3 separate regions of the Homo sapiens genome follow, and all the other regions are linked to region 1. Evidence: promoter capture Hi-C in human tissues and cell types (Jung and others, 2019). All regions are on one chromosome and are shown on one strand. The core of a region is centred on a gene start or on the middle of the fragment in contact, and the rest is flanking DNA. Distances in the headings are between cores, read along the strand shown.

Region 1 (2,697 bases), core at 146-2,645:
CGGCGCGCACGCACATACCCACGCCGGCCGGCGCCCGCTGCCCGAGCCCCCGTGCCAGGCCCAGACCTTGACTAGGCGCGGGAGGCGGTGCAGGGACTAGAGGACCCCCTCCCCCGGCGTTCCCCTCGCCCCGCCCGAGGCTGCGAGGACCCCTGGGCTCGGGGGTGGTGAGGGAGCTTCGTCCCGGCTGGGCCCGGGCTGGGGACTCGGCCTCCCTGGGCGGGGGCCGCACGGCTGCAGGCCGAGGTGCGGACGCGCTGTCAGGCTGCAGCCCGGCTCGGTGCCGGGGGTGGGCTCAGCGCTGGGGTCGCCTGGCTTCGTTCCCCCGCGGAGGCCACGGCCGGGCGAGCAGTGCCGGGGCGGGTAACCCGACCCGGCTCCCCAGAGCCGCTCACCCCGCACGGCCCGGCAAGGGGAGGGAGAGGGATGGGGGGAGGGGGAAGGGAAGGGGTGGTGGGTGAGGGGCTGTGGGCACCGCAGGGCCGAGTCCCCGGCCCGTCTGCGCTGCTGTAGGGCGGCTGCCCGCGGCACCCGGGACGATCCAGCCTCTGCCTCGCGGGCGTCGAGCCTGAGACAGGAGGGAGCCCTGGGGCTGCACAGGCTTGGCTCAGGGAGGCAGACCCGAGCTGCTGCCTCCATTTTGTTTCCTGCTCAGCTTGGTCTGTGGTGGTGGTGGTGGTGGTGGTGTGGGTTTGGGGTGCGGCCGGGTAGGGGGTTCGCCTGCGGCCGCGTCTGCTCGGGGCCTGAGGCCTCGAAGACCCCAGCCCAAGCCCCCAGGTGAGCCCTGCGGCAGGAGGGGGGTTGCCTTGGCCTCGGGCCGAACCCAGCGGGCTGAGGGCAGGTGCCCAGTGGATGGGGAGCCTGGGCTGTAACCTAAGATGGAGGCCGGGACTGACGCGGGCCCGAGCAGGGCTGGCGGGACGATCGGACAGGCCTCAGCCGCGCCAGGTGCCGCCTGGGTTGGGGTTCGAGACGCGTAGGGTGCGGGAGCCGTGTGCGGCCCGAGGCCAGCGCCGTGCCCCGAGGTAGGTGAGGGGATCGGAATGCCACCCACGACGCCCGCAGGCCCCGACACTCCAAGGAGGCGCGCGAGGCCCCTGGGGAGCCCGCCTCAGGCCCCGCCCGGGCAGCCGGGCCGGCCCGTAGGCCCCGGCCGCGAGCGGGCGCGCAGGGGGAGGGGAGGGGGCGGCAGCGGCAGCTCCGCTGATTGGGCGGCGCTCTCACAAGCCCGACTTCACCCGCCCTGAACCCCGAAGAGTGAGAGAAGGGAACGCGCGCGCTCGGTGGGGGAAGGGGTGCGCGCGCACTCGGGGCCCAGCCGCACGCGGGCCGGCGCGAGGCGCTCGGTCGCACGCGCGGCCGCGGGGGCGCGCGCGGTGGGGGTGTGAGGAGGAGGAGGCGGCGGCGGAATAGGCCGGGGCAGGTCGCGCTCGCTGCCTTCTCCCCTGAAGAGAGACGCGGGGGGAGGGGGGTGCGGCGAGCGGCCCCGCTCTCTCCCCACCGCTCCGCTCGCACCCCAGTGTAATGAGGGTCACCCCCTCCCCCCAGCTGGCCCGGGAGGGGGCGCGGGGCACGGTAACTAGTGCGCTGGGGTGGGCGGCGGGCAGGCGCGAGGAGAAGGGAGGGAGGAGGGTGGCCGGGCGGGGAAGATGGTGGTGGCCGTAAGGTGAGGGGCTCGGGGGAGGGCCAGGCGCGATGCGGGGTTGGTGGCCGGCGGCGCTGCAGCCGCCGGCCTCCTCCCCCTCCCCCTCCTCCATCACTACCAGCCGGGCTCAGGCCTAGCTGGCCGGGCTGCCGCGAACTTCCTCCCGGCGCGGCCCGTGCCCCGCCGGCCGCCTGCGAACACCTCGGCCTCCGCCTCCCCTCAGGTAGCAGGCTGCGGGGCGCGGGGCCGGCTGCCCTCCCGCAGCAAACTTTGCTTGCTGCTGAATATTGATGAGAGCGATCGGCTCGGCTGGGAGGTGCTGCCGCGGCTGCGGGAAGGAGCGCGGCCCGGGCAGGCGGCGGCGGCGTCGGCAGCAGCCATGTTTTTCGAGCTGTAGCAGCTGCTGCTACCCTGACTGGGCTTCGCTGGCCGCCTCGGTTTCTCCCTCTGCCGGGTCCAGGCCTCTTCGCCCTGCAGCTGCGGATCCAGCAGGCCTGCATTCAGGAAGGCGAGCTCTGGGGTGCAGCCGCCTCGGCCGGCTCGCCTGCGGCCTGCGCACCGCCGCTGCAAAGGCTCCGGCGCTGGCTGGGCGCAGGGTGCAGCGCTATTGTGACCGCTGCGCCCTAGCGAGCCAGGAAGGGGGGGGTACCTTTTTGTGCAGGGTCCAGGAGCCCCCCTCGGACCCCGCAGCCTTTTGCTTTTGAGAGATCCAGCTGCTCGACCCCTGGCGAGGGAGGGGGAGGACTAGTCCTGTTTGAGAATTGGGAATTTTGACGGGCAGAGGGGTTTTAATTTTAGTTCATCCCAAGTGTCCACCAGTCTACAGAGGAGGAAAAAGAGACGGGCTGTTTCTATGTAGCAGGATCGGCCCAGCTTCGGGAAAATGGAGTTTTCAGAGGCTCATCGAGGCCATTTTTTCATCTCCAGTCGGGGGAACTTTTTCTGCCCATGGAAGTGCAGCAGAAAGGCATAGAGGCCACTAGGCCTTGAAGTGGCTGCCATTTTAAAGAGTCGAGTCAGATGGCCTATTAACTCAGATTAATTGCTGTGCT
Region 2 (2,697 bases), core at 57-2,556, 200 kb after region 1:
AGGTGAAGCCCATCCCAGCCAGCTCTGCAGTCCCCAGGGCAGGGTGGGGCAGAGAGAGGACCAAGCCCACAGGGACCCGGGACCCCAGCGACAAGCCTGGGCTGCCTTCTGCTGCAGGAAGCCAGTTAAAACCAGACTCCTGGGCTCCTCTGAGTCCAACTCTGGATAAGGGGAGGCCCAGGAGTCTACATATCCAAGCCCCACCCCCACGCTGTGGTCTGAGGGCCCTTTCTGGAGCAGCGCGGCCCTGGTCACAGGCTCTCCCAGCCCACAGCTGGATGCTCTCGGCAGCCCCCCAGGAGGGTCTCCCAGGACCTGAGTCCCACACTCCACCCCAGCCCACAGCCTCTCTCCTCCACACAAGGTTCCCACAGGTCCTGCCCATCCTGGGATGGGGCCCACTGGTACGCTCCCTTGTACAGGCGGAGAGAAGACACTGACTTTCCCAAGCTCTCCAGGCTGTGGGTGGAGGAGCTGGGGTCTGGCTGGGCCCTGTTTCTGCCACTCTGCCTCCCTCCCTGACTGCGGCCCCCCCGACTCCACACTGTACAGTCTCCTCAGGCGTCCCCACACCCAGGCCTCGGGCCCAGGCCCTGCCTTTCAGCGACGTGCATGCCACCCTCTTGCCAGCCACAAGCCAACCTCCATCCTCCCTTCCTGCACAAGCTGCCACCAGCAGGCCTGCTGACCACTCTCGCCCCAGCCTCTGCTCTGCACACCGACAGCAGCGGCCACTGACCGAACGCGGAGGTCCCTAGGGATGGTGCTTCCCCAGAAAGCCACTCAGCCTCAGGGCTCTCACAGCTCCCTCTGTCTCCCTGTCTGCCGCAGACCCTAGAATGAGCCCCAGGGGCAGGGCCTGCCTGATCTCGTGTCTCCAGCACCCAGCCCATGGCTAGGCACAGAGGGCAGCTTTGGTCACATCTGAAGGAACAAATGGATTGAATCTAAAAACGAGTTCATCCTGCCTTGCCAGCTGCACGGGATGCTGGGTGGGCAAGGCAGGTGCCACCTCTGCAAACACCCAGCAGCTGGCAGCCTTCTGACCAAAGGTTGCAGCAAGGTTTGTGTGGTCCCCAAAACATTTCAAAATAATCTGAATCTTTAAAAAGTGAACTGTCACATAAAACACTGGATCTTGGCTTCTCCTGAAAAGCAGAAACACGCGGCCAAACTGGCCCACACGGCATGGGGACCCAGGGCTGGGCTACGACAGAGCCCGCGCCGTGCACTTCTGTCACTGGCTGGACCCCCAGGCACACATCTGTGGCTCTTAGGGTGGACTTCTCCACACACAGATGCCTCATTCCTCCAACCACAACGTTCACTCTGTGAGGAAAGGGGTAGCTAATTAGTGCCATGGGAAGAACCCAGGCTTCGGGTTTTGTAGAAACCCAATTTCCAATCTTGCTCTCTCTCTCCTTCTAGCTAAGGAATCCACCCCCTTGACCAGCAGCACGACTTCTTCCAGGTGGCTCACAGAAGGGACAGGTGGGCCAACATACCCAGCCCCCTGGCTCTGCTGGCCACTGCCCCAGCACCTAGTGAGGGAGGATGCTGGCCCACCACTCACACGTTTGTTGATCAGCCACTGCTTGCTGCCACAGCACTCACGTGACTAGGATGTCCTCAGGGACTGACTCTCTGCAGACTTCTCTTCCGCCTCATTCATTTACTCAAAAACTTGCCAGAGCTGACACGATCCAAGCCCAATACTCTAGGAGCTCGGACAGGGCCAGCCAGTGCCGCTTGCCAGGACCGGGCTGATCCAAGAGCCCAGACCACAACCACCACAACCACGACTGGACCACAAGACCCGCCAGGCTGGCTTCACCCCATTCTGGGTCAGGCCGCCCAGGCCCAGGCAGGGCGGGGCTGTGCACACGCACCTTTGGGCGACTTGAGGAAGTTGACGCTGGGCTCGATCTTGGTCCAGTCGATGCTCTCCTCGTCGGGCGTGTGCTCCACCATCAGCTGGAACAGCTTCATGGAGATGATGTCATGATTGTCTGCAGGACCAAGAATAAACCTGTGACAGCCTACAGGCCAGCCGCAGGGCACGTGGCCCAAGACCCTCCCACAAGGAAAGCTGCTGCTGCAGCCAGTAAACCTGCCAGGCCCCTGGGGAGAGCACTGCCCAGCCGGCTAGGGCCTGTTTTCTTCCCAGCTCCCTCCAGTCACCAGCAATAAAAAAGAGAGGAGGCAGAGTGGAGAGAAAACAGTAAGGGCTTTACAAGCAGAATCATCTGGGTCTAAATCCTGGGGTCTGCCGCCCTCTTTGAGGCTCATGTTCCGCACATGTAGAGGAGTGATGATCTCCATCTGTGTGGTTGCCATGGCAAGTACATGAGAAGGGTCTACACCACACAGAAGATGGCCTGCCTGCAGAATAAGTGCTCAAAAACAGACCCGGGAAAGACCAACAGTCGCTGTGTGACTGGCTGAGAAGGCTGAGGTCCCAAGGGCAGGAGCCACCAGACATTCTTGCCACAGAGACCCACATACAGGCTGCAGGGGAACAACTCGGCAACCAGCTAAGGGCCTGAGCCTAACGCAGGTCAGCAGCTGTGCCTGAGGAGACTGGGGAAAGGCTCTGTCCAATGGCATGCACAGGGAAGAGCCCTGGCTTGACGCTGATGGATCACCCAATTGTAGAGATGAGGAGGCTGAGGCTCAAAGCCGACACGTGGGTCCTGG
Region 3 (2,697 bases), core at 89-2,588, 180 kb before region 1:
GTATCTTAGTTCATTTTACATTATTTTGTATATCTAAATCTATCCATGTGCAACTTTGAATGAGCATCTCTTCTACCTAAAACAAAGTACCTATCTTTTAATTTTTACAATTAACAAAAAGCAAACTAAAGCACTTAACGAGGTTAAGCATCTTAGGTCTAAGATTAAAAATAATGACAGAACATGCACAAAACTCAATTTCTGAACCTCCTATGCAGTAAGACCCCAACAAATGGCAATATAAAAACTAACTACTAAAAGGCTGTGAAGTCCAGGCACAGTGGCTCACATCTGTAATCCTAGCACTTTGGGAGGCCAAGGAGGGAGAACTTAAGCCCCGAAGTTCAAGGCTGCAGTGAGCTATGATTGCACCACCGCACTCCAGGCTGGCTGACAAAATAATTTAAAACAATTTAATTTAAAATAATTTAAACAAATTAAATAACAAAAGGCTCTGAATGTACAGTTAAGCAAATGCTATTCCTGATGCTTTGCTGCCATCTCTGATGAGGCCTGTAAACAATCAAGAAGACAAAAAAAGTCATGTTAATTTCAAAACTAAATTACCCCTAAGGAGAGAAAAGATTGAGAATAAAAGCCAATGGCCATTAAAAACACCTATATGTGTATACGCATACGAGTGTTGAGACATGTACATACACGTATCAATTACATACAAACCTCCAGAGAGTAGGTTTGAAGAGTCAGAGGAAAATTAATAGGCATGAAAAGGTAAATAGGTATCAGAAATTCAGTAAAATCACAGTGGGGTACTTACCAGGACAAACAGTGATTTCTTCTGCAGAACTCTCTGGCATAAGGACTAAGCTTCTCTTACTGGTCAAAGCAGCAACACTGAAAGAGAACCAAATCCCAAATGAATTCCCAGTAAAATAAATCAGAACATAGAGCCAAAAGCAATGGTGAGTCACTCACAAAGCCACAGGTAATCACAGATACTTGCTGCCTAATACCACAAAAGCACAATAGGAAAGCAAGGAATCAGTACTGAAAACTCCAGACCAGAAATATGGAAAATAAATATGCTTACAACTTCAGTTCCAGTGAAATCACTGAATGAAAACAAATTCCCTTTTGGAGTTTTCACAAAGGAAGGTTGAAGGGTGAGAACTGTCTGTGAATATCAGAGAAGGCAAAAACTCCACTCCAATATAAGGATGTCAAAGGTGTTTTATAGCCTCCATCTCAGCCTTCTGAAGGCTAGAGATTTGTAAACTGACAAGAGAAGACACAGAGATTCTTCTGACAACACACTTTCTCCTCCTTTTGCAGTTAAATCTCCTCTTTATCTCAAGATGTTGCTTTCCATGCAACAAAAATAAAAAACAATTCCAAACTGCCCTACAGCAAAAATCTGCCCACATAAATTGAATCTCTTTTCTAACAAAAACTTAATTATGAATGGCTTCCTTCATCCAACCTTCTGGTTTTCCCTGACTGCTCATGGAGTGCAATCTCTTCCTGACATAGGAATACATGGCTGATCTGAGCATCTGAGCTAGCCCCCTCATGCTTCACAGGGCTTTACGATTAGTTTGATCAAGTATGCAAGAGGATGCTTGAAAACAAAAATCCTCACATCAACCAAGAACCACAGAGAAGACAGAATAGCTACAACTGAACTCATGATAAATAACTAAATCCTGATAGAAAACCACAAGTGATTTATCTCTAAATAAAACATCTCATAGCATTTGTTATAAACCCCAGCCAGACAGTTTACTCTGCATGTAACATTAGTGCTCTATTCAAAGGGTCCATCACAAAACAATTTTCTGACATTTATAAAATGGGCTAATCAATTTGAAGTCAAACCACATTGCCTGCGATTCCAACTCTCTCCTGGTGACAAAGTGTATAATCATTTATTAAAACCTACATCTGCTCTGCACAAGGCTCACCACAATAAAGCAGAGAGGCCTATAGGGAGTAAAGGCATACTCTGTTAAAACCACTTCCAAAACTGTCTTAACAGCAGGAAAATCAAACCAAAGCCATATTCTTTAGCCCAGGAAGGAATACCAAGTACTATCAACCAGAAGCCTAAGAAAGACCACCACCTTGACTACAGCAAATGGCAAGTGGGCTTCAACTCTCATATGGGAGAACAGTCATGCAGTTCAAAACTAAGCTCTTGAGAAAGTCTCAAAACTCAACTACTAGATAAAAAGGGCAAGTGGAAAGTAACTGGAAGCATGATCCAGTTAATAGTGCAGTTTATAATTAATCAACTGCTATCTATTATTAAAGTAAGAAGACTTAGAAGGTAAGCCCATCAATCAATCAGCAAGAACAATGGAGGAGGTAATGCAAATACCATCCTTTACAGGAGATAGGAGGCACAAACGGATTAAAAGTGGCACAGGACAGACAGTGAGAGTGACACAGGTCCTGTGTGGCCTGAATAATATGAAGACTTTGAAGAGGATGTTAAGTCTCAAGAGTAAATTTAAAAGATGTATAAGGTTTAGATATACAGATAAAATAAGCATAAGCAGAGTTGGGGAAAAGAGAGAAAGGGGCTAAGAATAGAAGGACTATAAAGAAATCAGTCTAGAGCCTTCAAATTGGCATAGAAAACTAGTGTAATTAGTTAAGAGAATTGCAGGATGTGACCGCTTTTCAGAAATAATGTAAATGAGATTTATGCCAAGATAGCTGGCCTGGACAAGATGA

The links. The method cuts DNA at HindIII sites, captures the fragments that hold promoters and counts their contacts. A contact is called where the count stands out against the background at its distance.
Region 2: a contact is called between a fragment that was not itself captured here and the fragment with the promoter of NSD1 in region 1, in 1 of the 25 tissues and cell types used here (spleen).
Region 3: a contact is called between a fragment that was not itself captured here and the fragment with the promoter of NSD1 in region 1, in 3 of the 25 tissues and cell types used here (lymphoblastoid cells, mesendoderm cells and thymus).

What each region holds. Positions count from the first base shown.
Region 1 is chr5:177,132,378-177,135,074 of GRCh38, forward strand. NSD1 (nuclear receptor binding SET domain protein 1) reads left to right here and starts at 1,396. Exons shown (of 23, transcript NM_022455.5): 1 at 1,396-1,575. RefSeq lists enhancers at 387-938, 431-725, 939-1,492, 1,493-2,044, 2,045-2,598 and silencers at 762-1,431, 1,512-1,671, 1,732-2,031. The HindIII fragment of the contact is 15,853 bases long and covers 1-2,697 here.
Region 2 is chr5:177,332,395-177,335,091 of GRCh38, forward strand. It overlaps LMAN2 (lectin, mannose binding 2), which reads right to left. Exons shown (of 8, transcript NM_006816.3): 7 at 1,890-2,009. Among named protein-coding and RNA genes, the nearest start is that of LMAN2, 18 kb to the right of the region's middle. The HindIII fragment of the contact is 8,340 bases long and covers 1-2,697 here.
Region 3 is chr5:176,955,181-176,957,877 of GRCh38, forward strand. It overlaps UIMC1 (ubiquitin interaction motif containing 1), which reads right to left. Exons shown (of 15, transcript NM_001199298.2): 8 at 779-855. Among named protein-coding and RNA genes, the nearest start is that of UIMC1, 50 kb to the right of the region's middle. The HindIII fragment of the contact is 7,008 bases long and covers 1-2,697 here.